Regions from separate parts of the Homo sapiens genome. Here regions 1 and 3 are each linked to region 2. The links are contacts of gene promoters, found by promoter capture Hi-C in human tissues and cell types (Jung and others, 2019). All regions are on one chromosome and are shown on one strand. Each heading gives the region's core, a stretch centred on a gene start or on the middle of the fragment in contact. The rest is flanking DNA. Distances are from core to core; before and after follow the strand shown. Region 1 holds the start of LOC124905075 (a long non-coding RNA gene). Region 2 holds the start of USP18 (ubiquitin specific peptidase 18). Region 3 overlaps MICAL3 (microtubule associated monooxygenase, calponin and LIM domain containing 3).

Region 1 (3,470 bases), core at 536-3,035, 280 kb before region 2:
ATGCAACTCTGGGAACCTCTCGTTGAAGGCCAAATGGGTAATTCTCTTGTCCCACCATGGAAATTCTATGACCAACTCCTCCTCCACATTTCCTGGCACTGGCTGACCATCTTTAATTTTTATGAGTTTTGTATATAGCTGCTTGAGATACATGTGTTTTGAACAAGAGGAAAGTGTGACAGACAGAAACACAGCCCTGCTGGCCCCCTCTTGCCACAGTGACCCTGGGCCGTGAACCACCTGGAGCTGTATGTGGGACATTCAGAACACCCAGCAGTTTGTGGAGCTCTGGACGCATCTCACAGGCAAGTTTTACAAGTTGCTGAGAGAGGCCATTTTAAGGAAAATCTACATAATTCTTCCCAACAGGCCTGGTACCCACAAACCCTGCGAGTCCTGTCATGCTATGACAAGAATAAATGTGTTTGTAGAGGTAGAGATGGTACTGTTCACCTCCCAACACAAGGAAGTGGTCATGAAAGTGGGACAGGTGAGGGCTTGGACCTCATGACAAGCCCAGTGGCCAAGGGGTCAGGACAGGGCATGTCCCATCACGGTGCAGGGCAGACAGGAGAGCAGCCACAGCTCATCCACACACAGTGACAGGGAACAGGACGCAGAATCTTAAGTGAAGGTGAACCCAAAACAAGACCACGGGGCTTAATCAACACAGCTCCAGGCCGTCAGAGGAGCTTGGAAGCAAACTGCATGAAGGCCGAGTGGCCTTGGCCTCACCAGGGCGGGTGATGGGAGCAGTGTCTGAGCGCCTGCGAGCTCCTGTCTACCTACACAGGACCTGGGCCGCCCTCAGGTGTGATGGTGCGGGACGGGGCTGAGGGACAGCACTTCACGGCTCTGCCGCCCACCGGACGGCCCCATCACTGGGCCACAGCCTGCCAGTGGAACTCCCCTCTGATTTGCACCAGCACCTCCGACAGGCCATAGAGAAAGGGGACTCCGAACGCAAGCAGCTGGCACATGAAAAAGGAGTCCAGAGGGTTTTGGGCCACTTGTTGCCCGAATGAAGAAATGTTGCTTTGGAGGTGCTGGCTCATGCCCTTGGCCTTGTCACAGAGGCCGAGGGAGTGACGCGCCACCCAGCCAAACAAGGAAGTGAGGCTACCTGGGGTTCTCTCAGTGGAGCTGGCCACGGCGTTGGCCCGTCCGTTTGCATCTGTGGTGGCGCCATCCTGCAGGGGTCCTTTGGCCTCCTAGGAAAGTTCATGAGAAAAAGAAGAGTGACTCTGACTGATGCACTCAAATCCTCAAATCCCTAGAGGCACTGACAATCTGACACGCTGGTTTTAAATTTTATTTATTTATTTATTTATTTATTTATTTATTTATTTATTTAAGAGACAGGGCCTTGCTGGCACCCAGGCTGGAGTGCAGCGGCATCATCATAGCTCACTGCAGCCCCGACCTCCTGGGCTCAAGCAATCCTCCCACCTCAGCCTCCTGAGTCACCCGGAGTCAAAGTCTAGATCCACCTAGGTGCACCTCTTCCTGCCAGTCCCTCTGCAGGCAACAGAAGCCCTCAAGGGGGACTGACAGGCAGGCGTGCTGACAAGGTGGCAACCATGCTGAAGAGACTGCTGGGTTCACCGCGACAAAGACAGGTGGAGAAGCCACCCTCATTAAAAAGAGGATAAGGAAGGAAAAAATTCACAGACAAATAACTCACAGAACTAGTGAAAGGCCCCGCAGGCAGGGCGCCCTTTGGGTGTGGGGAGTGAGGGTGGGGCCACCGAGGGATCCTCCCAACAGTCTCCTCTCCCACCCTGCCCTTCTGGAGGAGGCTCTAATCATGTGGAACATGAGGCGGCATCACCCCAGTGGCAGGGTGTCCTCTCAGAAAGATGTGTGTTGACGAAGGCAGATGTCTACGCAGCTGAGATGGAGAGCTGCATCATCTCCTGGGTCCGACTCAGGGGGCAGGTGGAGCCTTTACCTTAGCGAGGCAACCTCAGATCATCCATGAAAAGATGGTTCCCTCTCCACCCCGGACTGCCACTGCATTTCGGGCCCTCCCCGTTCCCAGGAGAGGCAAGGACGCAGGGGCATTTGCAGGTTGGCCGCCCCCGGCCCATAGCCACACTGCTGCAACACCCACTGCTTCTCCCCCACTTACAGGAGAGTCACCATTACCTTTCCAGACAGGGGAGCCACTGCCGGTCTCTTCCTTTGTGCGTAGCCAGAGAGTCGATAGCAGTAGTGTGGCTTACAGTAGAATTTACCTGCAGACAGCAAGAGGCAGGGACAGAGGCGATGAGCCAGGCACGGATCCTGAACGTGCCTCCCTGGTCTCAGCCACTCCTTTCCATCTCCTCCAGCCTCACAAGGCCATCAAGCCACCCAGCCTTCCCTGGGCCCAGCTTTCTTGTCCAGAGAAGCCAGTTCCTCCGGGTAAACTTTGATTCTAGCTCTCCTCTCCCTTGGCCTGAAGGGGGTCTTTTCCTTTGGGAATGTGAAGGCCATTGAGCCATCACCCAATCAGTGCCCAGAGCAAAGATGTGAGGCCTGTGTGGCAGGGCCAGCAAACAAAGTGGCAGTGTGTGAGGAACAAAGATGTGGTCACATGAAACGCTGGGAGTAGCATTGCTGGGGAAACCAAGAATGAATACAAGTGCAGGGTGGAGGCGTGGAGGCTGCAGGGGTGGGGCATCGCCTGGCATTGGCTCTGACAGGCCCATCTCTGCTGCTCCCCCTCCCGCACCCTATCTCTCACCCCCTCCCAGTCCCCTCAGAGGGTCAGGATCAGCAGGAAAGGACATTAGAAGACAAAAAATACTGCAATGGACTATGAGTAGGATGGAAGGGAACAGCATAGAACAGAACAGAATAGAATAGAATAGAATAGAATAGAATAGAATAGAATAGAATAGAATAGAATATAGAATAGAATAGAATAGAATCCAGAGTGTACTGTGGCATGATGAGAATAAAACGTTATTTCTTGGAACTTGCAGCTGTGTCTGGGTCTCAATGTAACGTGCATCCCCGTGGGGGGTGTCGTCAGAAAAATCTGAACACCACTGAACTTGGCTTTTCCCATGACTCTGGTAATGGAATTAACCCACGCAGTCATTTTTTTCTGACTCTTTTTTACTCTCACTTAAAGAGCGACTGACGACTTTTGAATCTCAAGTGATAAACCCTACTATAGAAACTGTTGAAACAGAAGTAATCCCATTTCATTTTCCTCATTTGTAGAGAGTGCTTCTTAGACAAATGAGCTTTCCTGATCTCAAAGCTACAATAAGAGGACCTAAAAGTCAAAGAAAATAAAGGTAAGATGGCATTCTTCCCTTTCCCTTTCCCTGATGATCTGATTATATCTTTCTTCTTTTCCTTCAGAGAAACTGACTTGTTTTACCTGCACTCCCTATCCAATGCTGAATAAATCTATTAGAAAGACACAGATTTTAAATAATTTTCATAATGCCTAGTATACTTTCTCAGACAGAATG
Region 2 (3,053 bases), core at 508-3,007:
TTTAGCATATTTTATCAAATTTTGCAACCTCCTCTCCTCATTGCCCTCACTTGAGTTTTTGAGGTTCCTGTTTGTGGACAAGACTTACCAGATGTATGAAGCTGGTTATATAACTGATTGGTCAGCAAATATAATGAGGACGGACCCTGCGCCCACCACCGTGTACCTGTGTAAACACCATACTGCGCAAAGTCCACCAGCCTTCCAGGGAGAACATGCTGCACTGTGGGCGACACTGCCTCCGTTCCAGCAGCAATGTAAGCGGAGTCTGGGCTGACGATGGACGTGTGGATAGCCTGTATGTGTATATCTGTGCTCATGCTTCTAACACACATCCACCCTATTATGGACACGTTTATACATCTTCATGCCATGGTATTTTGTACCTTACTGCAGACCCTACCAACGCTTCAGTGAGGTTCTGGCAGCTTTGGGTTTTTGGAGGCTATTTGTCTGTTGCTGCGGGGACGGCTTTCAGAAAGAATGATCGCTTTGGGGGAATTGTACCCTGCTTTCCTGCGCAAATTCCAGCGGCTGGAGTTTGAGGCCCCTAGCAGATAACCCTTCTGCCCCTACCCCCATGAGTCTACATACAAGAAATACATCTCTAAAGAGGTAATAAGCCTTTCCGGTGTGCATGTTACAGATCTCTTAACCTTATATATACACAGATGGTCCATCACTTACCGTGGTTTCACTTACGATGTTTCGACTTCATGATGGGTTCACTGGGACTTGACCCCATTTTTTTTTTTTTTTTTTAGACGGAGTCTTGCTCTTGTCGATCTCTGCTCACTGCAACCTCCGCTTCTTGGGTTCAAGTTATTCTCCTGCCTCAGCCTCTTAAGTAGCTGGGATTAAGCGCCACCACGCCGAGCTAATTTTTGTACTTTTAGTAGAGATGGGGTTTCACTATGTTGGTCAGGCTGGTCTCGAACTCCTGACCTCAGGTGATCCGCCTGCCTCAGCATCCCAAAGTGCTGGGATTACAGGTGTGAGCCACCGCGCCCCCTGACCCCTTCTTAAGTGGAGAAATATCTGTATCTGCATGCCCACAGGGGAGCTCCTAATTACACCATGTGCCGCATCCAAGCCACAGGCCGGTGATGTGAAGACACCCGATCCAAGAAATACAATAGCATTAAGAAAGAAAAAATGCTGCCATGGATACTACCAAACGCCAAATGACTCTAACACGTAGGCTAATTGCAAGGACCTTAAAATCGCAAATAAAAAGGCGCCTGTAGGTCGGGCGCGGTGGCCCACACCTGTAATCCCAGCACTTTAGGAGGCGGGCGGATCACCTGAGACCAGCCTGGCCAGCATGGCGGAACCCCATCGCTACTAAAATACAAAAATTAGCCAGGAGTGGTGGCGCATGCCTGTAATCCCAGCTACTCCGGAGCCTGAGGCAGGAGAATCGCTTGAACCCAGGAGGCGGAGTTTGCAGTGAACCGAGACAGCGCAACCGCACTCCAGCCTGGACGACAGAATGAGACTCCGTCTCAAAAAAAAAAAAAAAAAAAAAAAGCGAGGGCTGGAAGTCTGGAGCAGGTGCGCGGCTGCAACGGCAGCCGCGGGAAGCTCGGGCCGGCAGGGTTTCCCCGCACGCTGGCGCCCAGCTCCCGGCGCGGAGGCCGCTGTAAGTTTCGCTTTCCATTCAGTGGAAAACGAAAGCTGGGCGGGGTGCCACGAGCGCGGGGCCAGACCAAGGCGGGCCCGGAGCGGAACTTCGGTCCCAGCTCGGTCCCCGGCTCAGTCCCGACGTGGAACTCAGCAGCGGAGGCTGGACGCTTGCATGGCGCTTGAGGCAAGTTCGGGGCTCATTTTGGAAGTTTTCTTTCTAGCACAGACATCCAACTCTGCTCCTATGCCAGTCAGATAATTAAGGAATTAAGTAATAATTGTGCTCTGCAAATTATGATAGTGATCTGTATTTACTACGTGCATATATTTTGGGCCAGTGAATTTTTTTCTAAGCTAATATAGTTATTTGGACTTTTGACATGACTTTGTGTTTAATTAAAACAAAAAAAGAAATTGCAGAAGTGTTGTAAGCTTGTAAAAAAATTCAAACAATGCAGACAAATGTGTCTCGCAGTCTTCCACTCAGTATCATTTTTGTTTGTACCTTATCAGAAATGTTTCTATGTACAAGTCTTTAAAATCATTTCGAACTTGCTTTGTCCACTGAGTATATTATGGACATCTTTTCATGGCAGGACATATAGATGTGTTAATGGCATTAAAAATAAAACAAAAAACTGATTCGGCCGGGTACGGTGGCTCACGCCTGTAATCCCAGCACTTTGGGAGATCGAGGAGGGAGGATCACCTGAGGTCAGGAGTTACAGACATGGAGAAACCCCGTCTCTACTAAAAATACAAAATTAGCCTGGCGTGGTGGCGCATGCCTGTAATCCCAGCTACTCGGGAGGCTGAGGCAGGAGAATCGCTTGAACCCGGGAGCGGAGGTTGCGGTGAGCCGAGATCGCACCGTTGCACTCCAGCCTGGGCGACAGAGCGAAACTGTCTCAAACAAACAAACAAAAAAACCTGATACATGGTATGGGAAGTACATTGTTTAAACAATGCATGGAGATTTAGGTTGTTTCCAGTTTTTACTGGCACAGATACGGCAATGAATATAATTTTATGTATACATTCATACAAATATATCGGTGGAAAATTCCTAGAAGTGGAATGGCTGGGTCAGTGGGCATTCATATTGAGAAATTGGAAGGATGTTGTCAAACTCTGCAAATCAGAGTATTTTAGTCTTAACCTCTCTTCTTCACACCCTTTTCCTTGGAAGAAAGCTAAATTTAGACTTTTAAACACAAAACTCCATTTTGAGACCCCTGAAAATCTGGGTTCAAAGTGTTTGAAAATTAAAGCAGAGGCTTTAATTTGTACTTATTTAGGTATAATTTGTACTTTAAAGTTGTTCCAGAAAACAAGGCAAATACTGAAAAGCATTTCATCTGAAGTTTCTTTCTGGTATTGAACAGAGTTGGATGGAGAGTGAATGCAGGTTACCGATGTGTTCGCAG
Region 3 (3,194 bases), core at 161-2,660, 260 kb before region 2:
GGACCTAATGATGAAAAGGACAGGAAACCAAAATAATGCAACATGCTCTGCTTCTGAATCCTTCGGTTTGGCTTCCGTGGTAACAAATGCCGATGGGGGAACCTGGGTGTGCTGGTCCCCGCAGCTGACCTGGGGTCACCCTAGAACTCTGATTCTGTAGACAGGTGAGTGGAGAATGGCCAAAGGAGATGTCACTGGGATAGGTGGGTAGGACAACAGAGTATGTCTGTAAAAAACGCAGTCTTTAACACAGAGAAAATACCAATGAACCATCATAAATTGGTCAACTGTTCATGATGTTTTGCTTTGTTAGTAGTGACACATTTGCCTTGAGCTGGCCAAATGTTCTAGCCAGGTTTCCCTTGTGACCCATAGAATTTGAGAGACAGCTGGCCGAAATGAAGAGTTCAACCGGGGCCAATAAACAGTTTTCCTTTGTGGGAAGCTAACAGGCCCAGGTGGGTGTCAAAACCAGTTTTTGACTTATGAGTGTTGTGATTTTTAAAACTCAGCTATAGGAGCACAAAAAAAAAAATTGGAAAAAAACAAAAATAAAAATCATTCCTGGGTTGAGCTATATAATACATGACATACAGAGTTTCAAATATAGTGAAATCAAAATCACTGCCTTCTAGAGAAAGTATCTTACTATGTACCTCATTCTAGGAAAAAGGACAAAATGTTACTTGATAGCAGAGTGGTCTGAGATCCTTGAGGAGTATAAAAAAACACAAAGTTTGATCACAACTTACATCAGGTCAGGGCGGTATCTATGGATAATTGCACAAAGGGCCAAGCCACTTTTCCAGGACATGGTGAGATCTGTCACGTTTACCCCTGCATAGCCATCTGTCTGCCTCTGGCACCAACCCAGCAGTTTGCTTGAACGAGCTACAGACTCTAAAACAACAAAACACAGTATTATTGGAGGTGTGGTCACCTGGTAATGCTGACAGAGAATCCTCTTTGTAGGACACATGTCCCCTTTGAAAAATTACTGAGGGTAGGGACGAAACAGTCAACACTAGTTTCCATGCAAAGAAAACAGTGAGGAACAAGGTTATGCAAATGGTATCATGACAGCGAATTCTAAGAAAAGAAACTACTAGTTTATCCAGACTCTAAGGTCAACGTCCACCCCCCAGTACCCTGAGGGACCACAGCCTGACAGCCACAACCTGCTGTCCCCACGGCACTGAGGTGGAGGAGCGCCACCTACTGTGTGGCCAGCCTGGCTTACAGCAGCTCTGAGTTCCCGGACAGTCGCTGGCACCTAGCTGAGGAAGCCTACCCCCTCCAAAGTAACACTGGGAAGAGGAGAGGAGAAAAGGCTCCATTCTATAGGGTGGCACGTTCAACCCAAAGCACCCAGGCCTCGCCCTTGCACTTCCAAGGCACTGTATAACTTGCCAAGAGAAGAAGCCCTGCAGGGCTCCGCTGACAACCCTGGGGCCCCAGACCAGACAGTCCCCGAACAGAGCTTGGCACCTTGTACTATGAATTCTCAACCCTGAGAAACTGAATAGGCAAACACATGTGCTGGGATGCTTTTTACAGTTCATTGAAACGTCTTCTAAAACCCGAACAGCCTCTTTAAAAATCCTATTATTAATCACATCAGAAGAGCTCTGATATCGGCCATTCAAAAGAATCTATGAACTATTTATATCCAAGAAAGTCTGTTCCCTTACCGAGGGCAACTGAAGTTTGTACTAAGTCATTTAGTAATTTGTGAACATAAGCTAAAAACCAAGTATCATGAAAATCCTGTTTCATTTAGGTTTTTCGCCATGAAAATGTATTCTGCGATAACACATAAAACCACCTTCTGGTGCCATCTCTTGGCTCAGAAATGAGCTTTTACTCAGATCTGTCTCCTATGTGTATATCCAACCATCCAATATGTAACAGGCAACTTCAATATTCCATGCTCTAAAATAAAAACAGTGAATAAAGATACACTCTCTGCTTTCAAAGAGAAGACGCTCCAGTGGAGAAAAATGCAAATGTTTCCAACTGCCTGCTGGTCCTCACATCCACCCTGGCATCCCAATGGCACGTCAAATTCACAATGTCCAAATGACTCAAACCTCTCAACCCTCTCAGCCCTCCCTCTGCCTTGCCTACGCTGATGTAGCACCATCTACAAACACCTACCTCTTGCCCCACAAGGTGATCAATTGCCCCTGCCCATCGACTTCACCTCCTTACCATTCTCTCTCACATAACCAACAATGGCAATGACCATCCACCACAGGCCCGGCACTCATGATCACAATGTGAGGTAGACACTGCTGCCCCCACTTCACAGACAAGGAAATCGAAGTTCAGAGCTATTCAATCACCTCTTCGAGGCCGCACAATTCACCAGCAGCAAAGCTTGGCCTGGGACCCAGTTGCACCTGGCCCAAAGTCTGAGGTCTCCTCCACTGCCTCCTCCCTTCTTCATCCCCAGCATCAGGCCCAGATCTGGGCCTCCACCACCTTCAGCCTGACTATGGCGAGGTCTTTCTACCTGGTCTCCCTGCCTCTGGTACTTCCCTCCTCCAACCCCTCTCACGTGTGGCTGACCAGGTGTACTCATGTCATTCTCTTTCAAAAAAGTATTCAGGGCCTTCAATACATACAAAATCTGGAGTGGTCCTCACCTGTCACTGAATCCTGGCTATGTTGCAGGACCCAGCCAAAGACTTTTTCCACAAAGTCTTCTCCCGAAACCTTAGCTCTCACACTCTCTCCCTCTCTCCCCTCTGCCCCGCGTCTGTACCTGGTTTCTCTCTGTGCTCTCGTAACACCTCAGGCCAAGGTAATTCCGTGTGGTGGAGGCCTGTCTCGTGCACTGCGGGATGTTCAGCAGCATCCCTGGCTCCTGCCCACCCCCAATCATGACCATCAAAAATGTCCCCAGACAACTACCAAGTATCCCCTGGAGGGCAAAATCACCCTGGGTTGAGAGCCACTGTCTCAGACAGTACTTCGGCCACTGCCTCGGACCGCACCTTGTGGCTCAGGGAATGAGTATAGACTTCTCTGAAGGGGCTGCCTGCATTTTAAAAAGCCACCACCAGAACTCACCATTGCGAGTCAATTTGGGGGTGGTTCGGGAATTCACCAGGCTCTCCATTTCCAGGTGAATATCTTTTGTTTCGCCAGTATCATATAAATGGCGCACCTGGCAGAAATTTACAAAGTCA

What was found. The method cuts DNA at HindIII sites, captures the fragments that hold promoters and counts their contacts. A contact is called where the count stands out against the background at its distance.
Region 1: a contact is called between a fragment that was not itself captured here and the fragment with the promoter of USP18 in region 2, in 1 of the 25 tissues and cell types used here (lymphoblastoid cells).
Region 3: a fragment that was not itself captured here is called in contact with the fragment with the promoter of USP18 in region 2 in 3 of the 25 tissues and cell types used here (dorsolateral prefrontal cortex, lymphoblastoid cells and thymus).

The regions. Positions count from the first base shown.
Region 1 is chr22:17,863,776-17,867,245 of GRCh38, forward strand. MICAL3 (microtubule associated monooxygenase, calponin and LIM domain containing 3) reads right to left here. Exons shown (of 32, transcript NM_015241.3): 18 at 2,149-2,237; 19 at 1,124-1,211. It overlaps LOC124905075 (a long non-coding RNA gene), which reads left to right and starts at 2,976. Exons shown (of 3, transcript XR_007067998.1): 1 at 2,976-3,062; 2 at 3,214-3,290; 3 at 3,463-3,470. The HindIII fragment of the contact is 7,762 bases long and covers 1-3,470 here.
Region 2 is chr22:18,148,413-18,151,465 of GRCh38, forward strand. It overlaps USP18 (ubiquitin specific peptidase 18), which reads left to right and starts at 1,758. Exons shown (of 11, transcript NM_017414.4): 1 at 1,758-1,810. LOC124905076 (a long non-coding RNA gene) reads right to left here and starts at 802. Exons shown (of 2, transcript XR_007067999.1): 1 at 688-802. RefSeq lists an enhancer at 1,499-1,818. The HindIII fragment of the contact is 12,042 bases long and covers 1-3,031 here.
Region 3 is chr22:17,890,733-17,893,926 of GRCh38, forward strand. It overlaps MICAL3 (microtubule associated monooxygenase, calponin and LIM domain containing 3), which reads right to left. Exons shown (of 32, transcript NM_015241.3): 11 at 3,076-3,172; 12 at 753-900. Among named protein-coding and RNA genes, the nearest start is that of MIR648, 89 kb to the right of the region's middle. The HindIII fragment of the contact is 3,153 bases long and covers 1-2,987 here.